2 separate regions of the Homo sapiens genome follow, and region 1 is linked to region 2. Evidence: promoter capture Hi-C in 16 types of primary human blood cells and fetal thymus (Javierre and others, 2016). All regions are on one chromosome and are shown on one strand. The core of a region is centred on a gene start or on the middle of the fragment in contact, and the rest is flanking DNA. Distances in the headings are between cores, read along the strand shown.

The links. The method cuts DNA at HindIII sites, captures the fragments that hold promoters and counts their contacts. A CHiCAGO score of 5 or more calls a contact.
Region 1: a fragment that was not itself captured here is called in contact with the fragment with the promoter of NDNF in region 2 in 3 of 17 cell types (megakaryocytes, naive CD4 T cells and naive CD8 T cells); the score reaches 6.3 in megakaryocytes.

What each region holds. Positions count from the first base shown.
Region 1 is chr4:120,711,945-120,716,540 of GRCh38, forward strand. All of the region lies in intron 14 of PRDM5 (PR/SET domain 5), which reads right to left. Among named protein-coding and RNA genes, the nearest start is that of PRDM5, 210 kb to the right of the region's middle. The HindIII fragment of the contact is 1,564 bases long and covers 1,431-2,994 here.
Region 2 is chr4:121,070,065-121,074,325 of GRCh38, forward strand. It overlaps NDNF (neuron derived neurotrophic factor), which reads right to left and starts at 2,471. Exons shown (of 4, transcript NM_024574.4): 1 at 1,929-2,471. NDNF-AS1 (NDNF antisense RNA 1) reads left to right here and starts at 1,298. Exons shown (of 3, transcript NR_187407.1): 1 at 1,298-1,516; 2 at 3,686-3,800. The HindIII fragment of the contact is 1,993 bases long and covers 1,780-3,772 here.

The sequences.
Region 1 (4,596 bases), core at 963-3,462, 360 kb before region 2:
AGTGAGATCCATTTTTTTAATCAAATATATCTTCAAAAATATTGCTATAAACATTCTTGGGCTGGGCATGGTGGCTCATGCCTGTAATCCTAGCACTTTGGGAGGCCAAGGCGGACGAATTATCTGAGGTCAGCAGTTTGAGACCAGCCTGGCCAACATGGTGAAACCCCGTCTCTACTAAAAATACAAAAGTTAGCTGGGCATGGTGGCGGGCACCTGTAATTCCAGCTACTCGGGAGGCTGAGGCAGGAGAATCGCTTGAACCCAGGAGGCGGAGGTTGCAGTGAGCCAAGATGACTCCAATGCACTCCAGCCTGGGCGACAAGAGCAAAACTCCCTCTCAAAAAGAAAACAAAAACATTTTTGAATTGAGATAGTGTATGCATGTTTCTTGTTAACAAGCTGTATTTATATTTTCTCTCTAGTATCAAAAAATCTATAACTTTTTTTGCAGACCTATAAAAAACAGTATGTAAATAACCAGAGAGACATACATCTGCCCACCAACTAGCCTAAGAAGTCCAACCTTTTCAATACAGGTGCCGCTCTCAATTGCCTCCTCCCCCACCACCTGCAGCACTCTCCCATCTCCTCAGGGATGACAGCTCCCTCAGATATGTTAAGTACCATTCCCTTGCCTTTCTCTACATTGTTACTACCTATGTATGAATGGAACCTTAAGATAGAGTATTATTTTGCCATTTGAAAGTATGTAAATACTATCATTCCGTATCCACTTTTTGTGTGTGTTCTGTTGAGATGTACTTTATCATTGTTCAACATTATCCTCACAAGTTTCTAGTCCTCGCTTTCATTTTTGTGAACATATGTAGCTCATATTTACTAATTTTCAATGTTGGGCATATGACATTAAATAGCTGTATACCACAATTTATTTATATACATTCTCCAGTGATGGATAGCTAAGTTATTCCCAGTTGTTCACTCTTATAAATAATGTTCCTCTGAAAAAATCTTGTACACTTGAATATAGGTGAAAGCAATTCTCTAAGGCATGTGTACCTAGATGTGGGACTGAATCTTCAACTTTTCTATGAATAAACAAATAACTCTGCAAAGTTAATAAACCAAGCTAATAAACCATTTTATACTCCAATATTCACTGTATCCTTGTGATTCTATCACTTTATTTTAGATGTTTTGAGACTTTCATTAGGTATGTAAGTATATACAAATTTTAAACTATTATGCTATTGGAAAATAGAACCTTTTATCATTTTGACATGACCTTTTCTATCTGTAATAATTCTTTTTTACCTTGAAATTAATATGACTGCCATATAGCTATAAAAGCTTTTTAAAATTAGTATTTGCCTGCTATACTCATCTTTTTGCTTTCAAACAGCCTATATCCTTATGCATGGGCAGTGACTTTTATAAACAGCATATGACTAGATTTTTTTAACCCAAGCTTTTTTGTGATCCAAAGATTACTTCTATCTAAGATGGCAAGTTTTGCCTCTTTACAAATTTGTGATTACTGATATACTTGACTATATTTCCAACATTTATTTTGTGCACTACTATTATCCTATTTGTTTTACAAGTTTTTCCCATATATTTTATTACATGTTTTAGATTGATCCTTTCCCCTGGTACTACTTTAAAAGTTATTATCTCTATTTCTTTCCTTTTAATGGTTATCCTTAAAATATTTTACTTTGTATGTTTAAAACTAAAGTTTATCCATATGTTTTATCTCCTACTGAATAATACAGGTACTGTAGAACGATCCTCTTACACTTAGAGCAGTATTTTATTTATATCTTGATTTTTAATGCTTGTCTTAGTCATTTTGAGCTGCCGTAATAAAATACCATACACTGGGTCACTATAAACAACAGACATTTATTTCTCACCATTCTGGAGGTTAGAAGTCTAAGGTCAGGGTGTCAGCCTAGTCAGGTTCACATGAGGGCCCTTTTCTGGGTTGTGAATTCCCTGTCCTCACATGGTGGAAGGAAAGTACTCTGGTCTCTTCAGTTCCTTATAAGCGCACTAATCCCATTCATGACAGCTATACCCTCATGACCCTATCAGCTCCCAAAGGTCCCACTCTCTAATACCATCACACTGATGGTTAGGATTTCACATAAGAATTTGGGGAGAATGCAAATATTCAGTCCATTGCAATGCCTAATATGAAATCATTATCATTTTATATAATCAACGTGATTTAGCTTTACACATGATTAACAATTTCTTTACTTTTCAGGCTTTTTTATGTATCTGATTTTCCAAGGATCTGTTGGTGGCAAATTGTTTTTGACTGAATATGACTACTTTTCTCATTTGTTGTTGAATGAAAGTCTACAAATCCAATGAGATATATAATAGACTAATTTTACTCTTCATATTTCTTAATATCTCTTTAACATTTCCATCTCTTTCTGTTGTACTCTAATTTCTTAAAGTCAATTGATTTTAAAAATCAGTTGATCAATTCTCTTTTCAGCTTGCTGTTTAATGGGACCCTAGGGCTTTTAATTTCTGTTATCATATTTTTAACCTTTAGAAGTTTTATTTGCTTATTTCCCAATTCCATTTTTGATACAATCTCATTTTTCTCATAAGCAACGCATGTTGTTTATGCCTATTTGAAAATATTCTAGGCATTTATATAATTTACTTTATCTGATAAAGCATTATCTTAAGATGTCTGGAAGTCTAGTTCTCTTTTTTGTGGTTTCTCCTGTCTCCTGCTCGTGGCTTTTGTTTCCTTGGGTGTCTGGGATTTGAAATAGTGAGGACACGTTTGGTGGTCTTTATCTGTTAAAATCCTGTGACCCCTAGGTTGAGGGTAAGTCCCTCCAGACAGCATTTGTGTTTGCTGCTGCCAGGCACTCTGGGATGCTATCAATCAAAGACTGTTTTAAGTTGATTTATTGCCTTAGGGTTTTCTGGTGAGGCAGATATTGTAAGTCTGAACTCCACACTTGAGGGAAGGATTGCGGTTATAAACTCTAAGAAGAAAGCTTTCCCTAGCCAGCAATTACTCCAAAACAGTTAAATGTCTCAAGTACCAACCTTTACCAAAGGCAGATTATGTCTAGTCCCCAATTTTATTTTGAGCATAGCATTTCTAGAGTCCAAGAATAAAAGTGGTATGGGATTCCATCTTGCCCTATAATCTGAACATACAGTTTGTCTCATTTTCCCTGACACCATGAAAAATCAAGTCTTGAGATTACCCTACAGGTGCTGCATCCTCAACTTGAACTTATCACTCACTTTCAGCTCCATTTTTGTTCATTGAATCCTGAGGGCTATCATTACTTTTTTTACAAGTTCAGATGTTTTCTGTTTGCTTTGTTTTATCCAGCATTAATAAGTGCTCCTTATAGGGCCTTTTTTCCGGGATATGGAGTATCTACCATGTTGCCAGAAATGAAAGTAACTATGTGTGTAATTTTAAAGATGTAAAAAAATATGTTTAATGAGTCTTCCCCAGTCATCAGGAAAAATGTTCAATTTTCTTTGCAGTCCAAAAAATATAATGTGCTTTCCCCTCTAGTCTGAATAAACATAATGTCTTTTCACAACTTCAAATATTTCTTCAAATATTCCACAGTTTTTCAAAAACTTGAAAATGAAAAGGTAGTTTTAAGTATTTGGATCAGAATTTGTTTGAAGTTGCTGGGATTTCTTATTAAGGCTTGTATTATATCCAAATATTCTACTTAAACTTTTATTTTAAAAAAACATACAAAGACATTATTATGAAGTATATGAGAAGAAACAAAAAGCTTAATCCCTACACTTTACTTGTAAGACCAGAAGTTGTGAAGACATGATGGGCATGGCACCATGGCAGCTGCCAATGACAGGTGAGGGTTTTGCAGAGAACATCCTAAGACAGAACTGTCAAAATGCCACCCTAAGAGCAAGAAGAGGTATCAGGGAAGAAAAGGCAATGAAAATCAAGACCTGGGCACCAAAGATTAAGAACAACCCTTTTACTCCTTCCCAAATTTCCTCTTAGGAGACACTATCTGGGTGAGTATCCTAGACATTGCTCATACAGATGCTTAAAAGACTGACTCCCTGCTAGTATACTGAGATTCTGGTGAGGCATGAGGGCTTTGCAGTTATCACAAGAGGTTTAAAAATGCAAACACGTATTAATCATTGCTTTAGCTGAATAATGTCTTATATACTTACACACACACATTATCCACTCACATACTGATATTTTTCACATGTTTATACATGCTATTGCTGATTAATTTAATATACTTCACTTACAAATGTCGTTGAAATTATATTACCTTTCCTTATTTTCTCCTTCACAATATACTACAAGTACAACAACCATGTATTTATATATGCATGTTGGCAGAAAAGTAAAGGATAAAATGTGTAGTGTTAGAAAGGTTCTTCCAATTAAAGAAGTTTGAAGAGAAATCCATTTGATTAAGTAGTTTTCAATCTGCCTGGACTCCCTCTTCTCTACCTAGAACCATTTAAAGCCAGGGAGTCTTTGGGGTTTTGCCCTAAGAGAAGCACATGAAGGCCCCACGAGCATACTTCTATGTTAGTCTGGCAAGAAAGGCTCTCTGTCATAACTAAGTATAT
Region 2 (4,261 bases), core at 1,221-3,720:
ACATTTGATTAATCCCATATGCAGAATGACTGAAGAATTAATACGGTTTTGGTGTTTTCACTTTCTGAAACCACTGTAATAAGAGACTGACATAAACTCAAACCCCAGTATAAACACAGTCTGAGCGAAGGTTGCGGCCTTATTATCACTCTTAACAAACAATAATGAATAATCATACCGATCGCCCTCACTACACTCTGCTTTATATACATATTCCCTCTCGGATCCATCCATCACTTCTTTCAAGATAATAAAACAATTCAATCCCATCAAATCCCCTGCAACCGCTCCCTTGGGAGGGATGTTTTATCTCTACTTCTCCGAACCCAGGGAGGATTTTACTTGTTTGAAGGGGGCGGAGAATGGAGCGGAGTCCTATTTATTTCCATTGATGACTCCCCTGGTTCTCACAGGCGCTCAGGGACCGGGTGGGAGGAGGAGAGGAGGAGGTGCGGAGATTCCCTCCGTCAGAAAAGAAAAAGGGTTCAGGAAGCGAGGCAGCAGGAGGAGGGGTGGAGGGGGGAAAGAGAGGGTAGTGTGTTTGGGGAAAGCAGCAACTAAATGAAAAAATAAACTCTTCTTTGTGATTTAGCGGGATCGACAGATGAGAAGCAAATTTATCAACCCAACAAAGTTGCTAAAAAGAACTCTGTAAATAAATTTAAAGAAAAGAAGGAAAAAACATAACAACAACAACAAAACCCAGACATACACTCAGGTTCATTTCCCGCTCAAGGTCTTGGTTTTAGGGAGCCACCCGTACCCAAGAGCAAGAAATGGACAGCGCCCCGAAGGGGGCCAGGAGGGGAACCGCAACTTGGCCGGAGGGACAGCTCAGAGACAGCGTAGAGGTGCCCGCGGCAAACTCCGAGGAGCTGATGCGGGGCGGGTCCGGGGAACTGCCGGGAGCTCTCACGCCTGGGCCTGGGATAGGGTGCGGGCAGAAAGGTGAACCGAGAGCGCACAATGCAACGAAACCGCACTCCAAATTCAGCAGTTTGCAAAGTGCCTCCAAGAAAACAGCTGGGACCTGCAATCACTCGTTCGGACTCCTAGGTTATCGGGGCCGCGGCGACTCCGCTCAGTTAGAAAGGTAGCGCGGGTGAGAGCGAACCCCAACTCACGCACAGACAGGACGAGGGCACGAAGCCGAGTCTCCTGGCTGGGGCCGTAGGGGGCGTCACCTCGGTGGCCGCTCTGCTCTCCGGAAGAAAGTATGAGCCGGTCCCAGGCCACCTCGCTCAGCCCAAGGAAGTTTCTATAACGATGCTCGCCTACCACGCAGAGGACAAATGAGGAGCCAGAGCGGTTGGGGGTCGGGCCAACCGAACTCCCGGCCCCGGCTGCGCAGCTCCCAGACGCCCACCAAGAACTCGTGCGCTGCCTGGACCTCTAGCTTTTCGCCCTACACGCAGACGCCCTCTGCAAAACCCCAGTCCCGCAGACTTTCCCTAGCGGCGGGCGGAGGGCATGAACCTGGAAAGGGAGGCAACAGCCCTCTTGGCAGGCGGGCAAAGTAAGTGTCCAGGCTAAGTCCGGGATAAAGGCTCCGCGGCTCCCCAGACCCCACTGCACCCCGAGCTCCCGGGTCCCAGGTCTTCCCCGCCCTTGCGCTGTCTGTCCACCTCCTCACATCTCTCCGGGCCGCCCAGCTTCGAAAGCAGCTAAATTAAAAACAAACAAACAAACAAACAACAACAACAATAAAAAAAAAAAAACGAGGGAAACCTGCTCCTGCCCCTCATGCCCTCAGCTCCTACGGATAGGGCGCCCTTGAGAAGCTTCTTGGGCCTTGAAGATTTGGGGGCGCGTGCCTCGAGCCCCCATCTCGGATGACCCTTCGGGCGTGAACGCTCCTTGTGCTAGGTCTCAGGGTGGCGGGCTAAGGCGTCGGGTCTCTGGGGCATTGCTTTCCTCTCCCCACTTACCTTAAAAAGATCTGTTTTTCGTAGGGAAAATAGAAAAAAATCCCTCCCCGTGGTGTGGTGTGCGAAATAGTCCACGTCCCCGGACCCTGCCAAGATGCTAAGCACCAATATCCAGGAACGAGAAGCCTGGAGGGCGGGGACGGAGGCAGATAAAAGAGAAAAATTCAATCCGCTGAAGTGTCCCAACTTTGCGGTCGGCACAGCAAACTTCAAAGGCGGGCGAGGGCGGGCGGCGCGCGGTCGCCGAAGTTGCTGCGAAGTGGAGTAGGGAGCCGCGCGGGGCTGGGGAATCCCGGGGCAGCGCCGAGAAGCGGCGGGAGGTCCTTTTAAACTGCAGGGAGCGTGCGGGGGCTGGGCGGCGGGAGGATGCCGCAGCGACCCGCGGGGCTGGCGCGGGCTTCGCCGGCCGCCGCTAGTCGCACAGGCGCCTGGCTGGAGCGCCGCGCGGGGTGCTGGGAGAGCCGGGCGCACGGGGCGGCAGCGGCCGTGGCGGGTGCGCTGCTCAGTTAGCTCCACTCTCTCGCGGCTGGAAGTGGGGAGTGTGTGTTCGCTCCCGAGTGTCACTGCTGAAGCCCGGAGTCTCTTCCCCTCCCAGCCCTAACCCCTCCCGCCTCACCGCTGCCCGCCCGCCCCCTCCCTCCTCTGCCCGTTGCCTCCCCCTCCGTCCCTCCTTCTCTCCCTCCCGCTGCGCGCCAGCGCGCACGCACACACACACACACACACACACACTCATACACATACACACACTCACACACAGACACCCTCTCCCTCCTTTTCTCTCTCCCTGTAGCCCTCCCTCCCTCTCTTTCTCTCACACACACACCACCCTGCTCAGCGACCCAGCGCTCCCCAAACAGGACCCTCGCGGGCGGCATCGCGAGGGACACGCTGCTGTCCTAACCTTAGCGCCACTCGGGGAGAATGAAGGAGGCCCACCGAGCCCCCGACAAAGCTGCAAAACCCAGGAGACGCGCACGCGGGACCATCACACTGTCAAGCAGACCGGGGTGCACAATAGAGGGAAACTCTGGGGTTGATCTGGGGGCAGGGAGGGGGACGTGTTAAATCCAGAAGGTTGGTGGTTGGAGGCGGAAAGCAGAGTGTGCAAACTGTGCATTCATGTCCCACTTTTCACCCGAACGCCTGCCTATCACAGCCTTCACTCAGGGAGCGCTTCCCCCTCGGCGCAGACCGAGCCTCCTCCGATTTGAAACTCAGCAGCTGTTTTAACAATTGAAAAAGCGGCCCTACAGGACCAGTGAAACGGAGCAGAGTGTGTGAAGCCATTAAGGCTGACTAGGTAATTATGATAAAAAGTTACCTAATTAGCAACCTGGCCTGGGCTTAGGAAAACCAAGAAAAAAAAAGTACCGAATGATTTGGTGATCTCATTTTTGCAACTGAGAACCTGATTTCCAGCAAACCTGGTTTTATATAAGTTCTAATAATATATAATTATTTATTAAGATATAGTGTCAGTATTGAAAACACTAGTTCTGTTATTGCCACAATGAAATTAAGGTAGGTAGGATGAAAATCAGCCTTATCCCGGTCATATTAAGAACTATGATCTTTTTTGCTAAACAGTTGGTCACAGAGGGTGGACCAATGCAGCTCCTAAAGTTTTGTGGTTCCTAGATGAAAACACTGCAGGAAATGGATTTATAAAACCGTTTACACGACATAAAATAGTTTTGTAAAATTTTTAAACACTGAAAAGGACATTTCAGATCACTGTGCAAGCATATTTTTTGCAGATGAGACAATGAGGTGAGAAAAGTCCTCATTGTATCTCCACTTAGGAGATACGATCTAGAGCAGATCCCTGGGTCATTCATTAACAAAGCTTACGAAGTCCCTGCTGTGTACCAGGTATGTCTTATGTGCTGAGATTTAGAGGTGATGGTGCTGCCTTTAAGGAACTCACCGCCTGGTGAGGAGACAGAGGCATAAATGAAAATGTGATTAGCACTATAATAAGTGCAGGTACCTGGTCCTGTGGAAGCATGGAAAAGGAAACAGCTAACTCCCCTTCAGAAGCTTCTCTTGGTAGAGATTTCAGTGTAGAGTTCTGAAAGACAAGGAAGAAATACAAGGCCAACAAGGATGTGGTGGAGGGGGGAGGGCATTCCACAAACAGAAGCAAGTGAAGAGGTTAGGAAAGTGTCAAAGTACATGGTGTGTCCTGGAAACTAGGAGACTAGGTGCGGCTAGACTGCAGGTGAAGTAAGCAAGGCCAAGCCACACAAGGCTCTCTGGGTGTAAGGAGCCAGAACTTGCCTGGAGGTGGTGAGTAGTTGGGAAACTGTTAAAGGTGTTAAGCTAGGACAGAT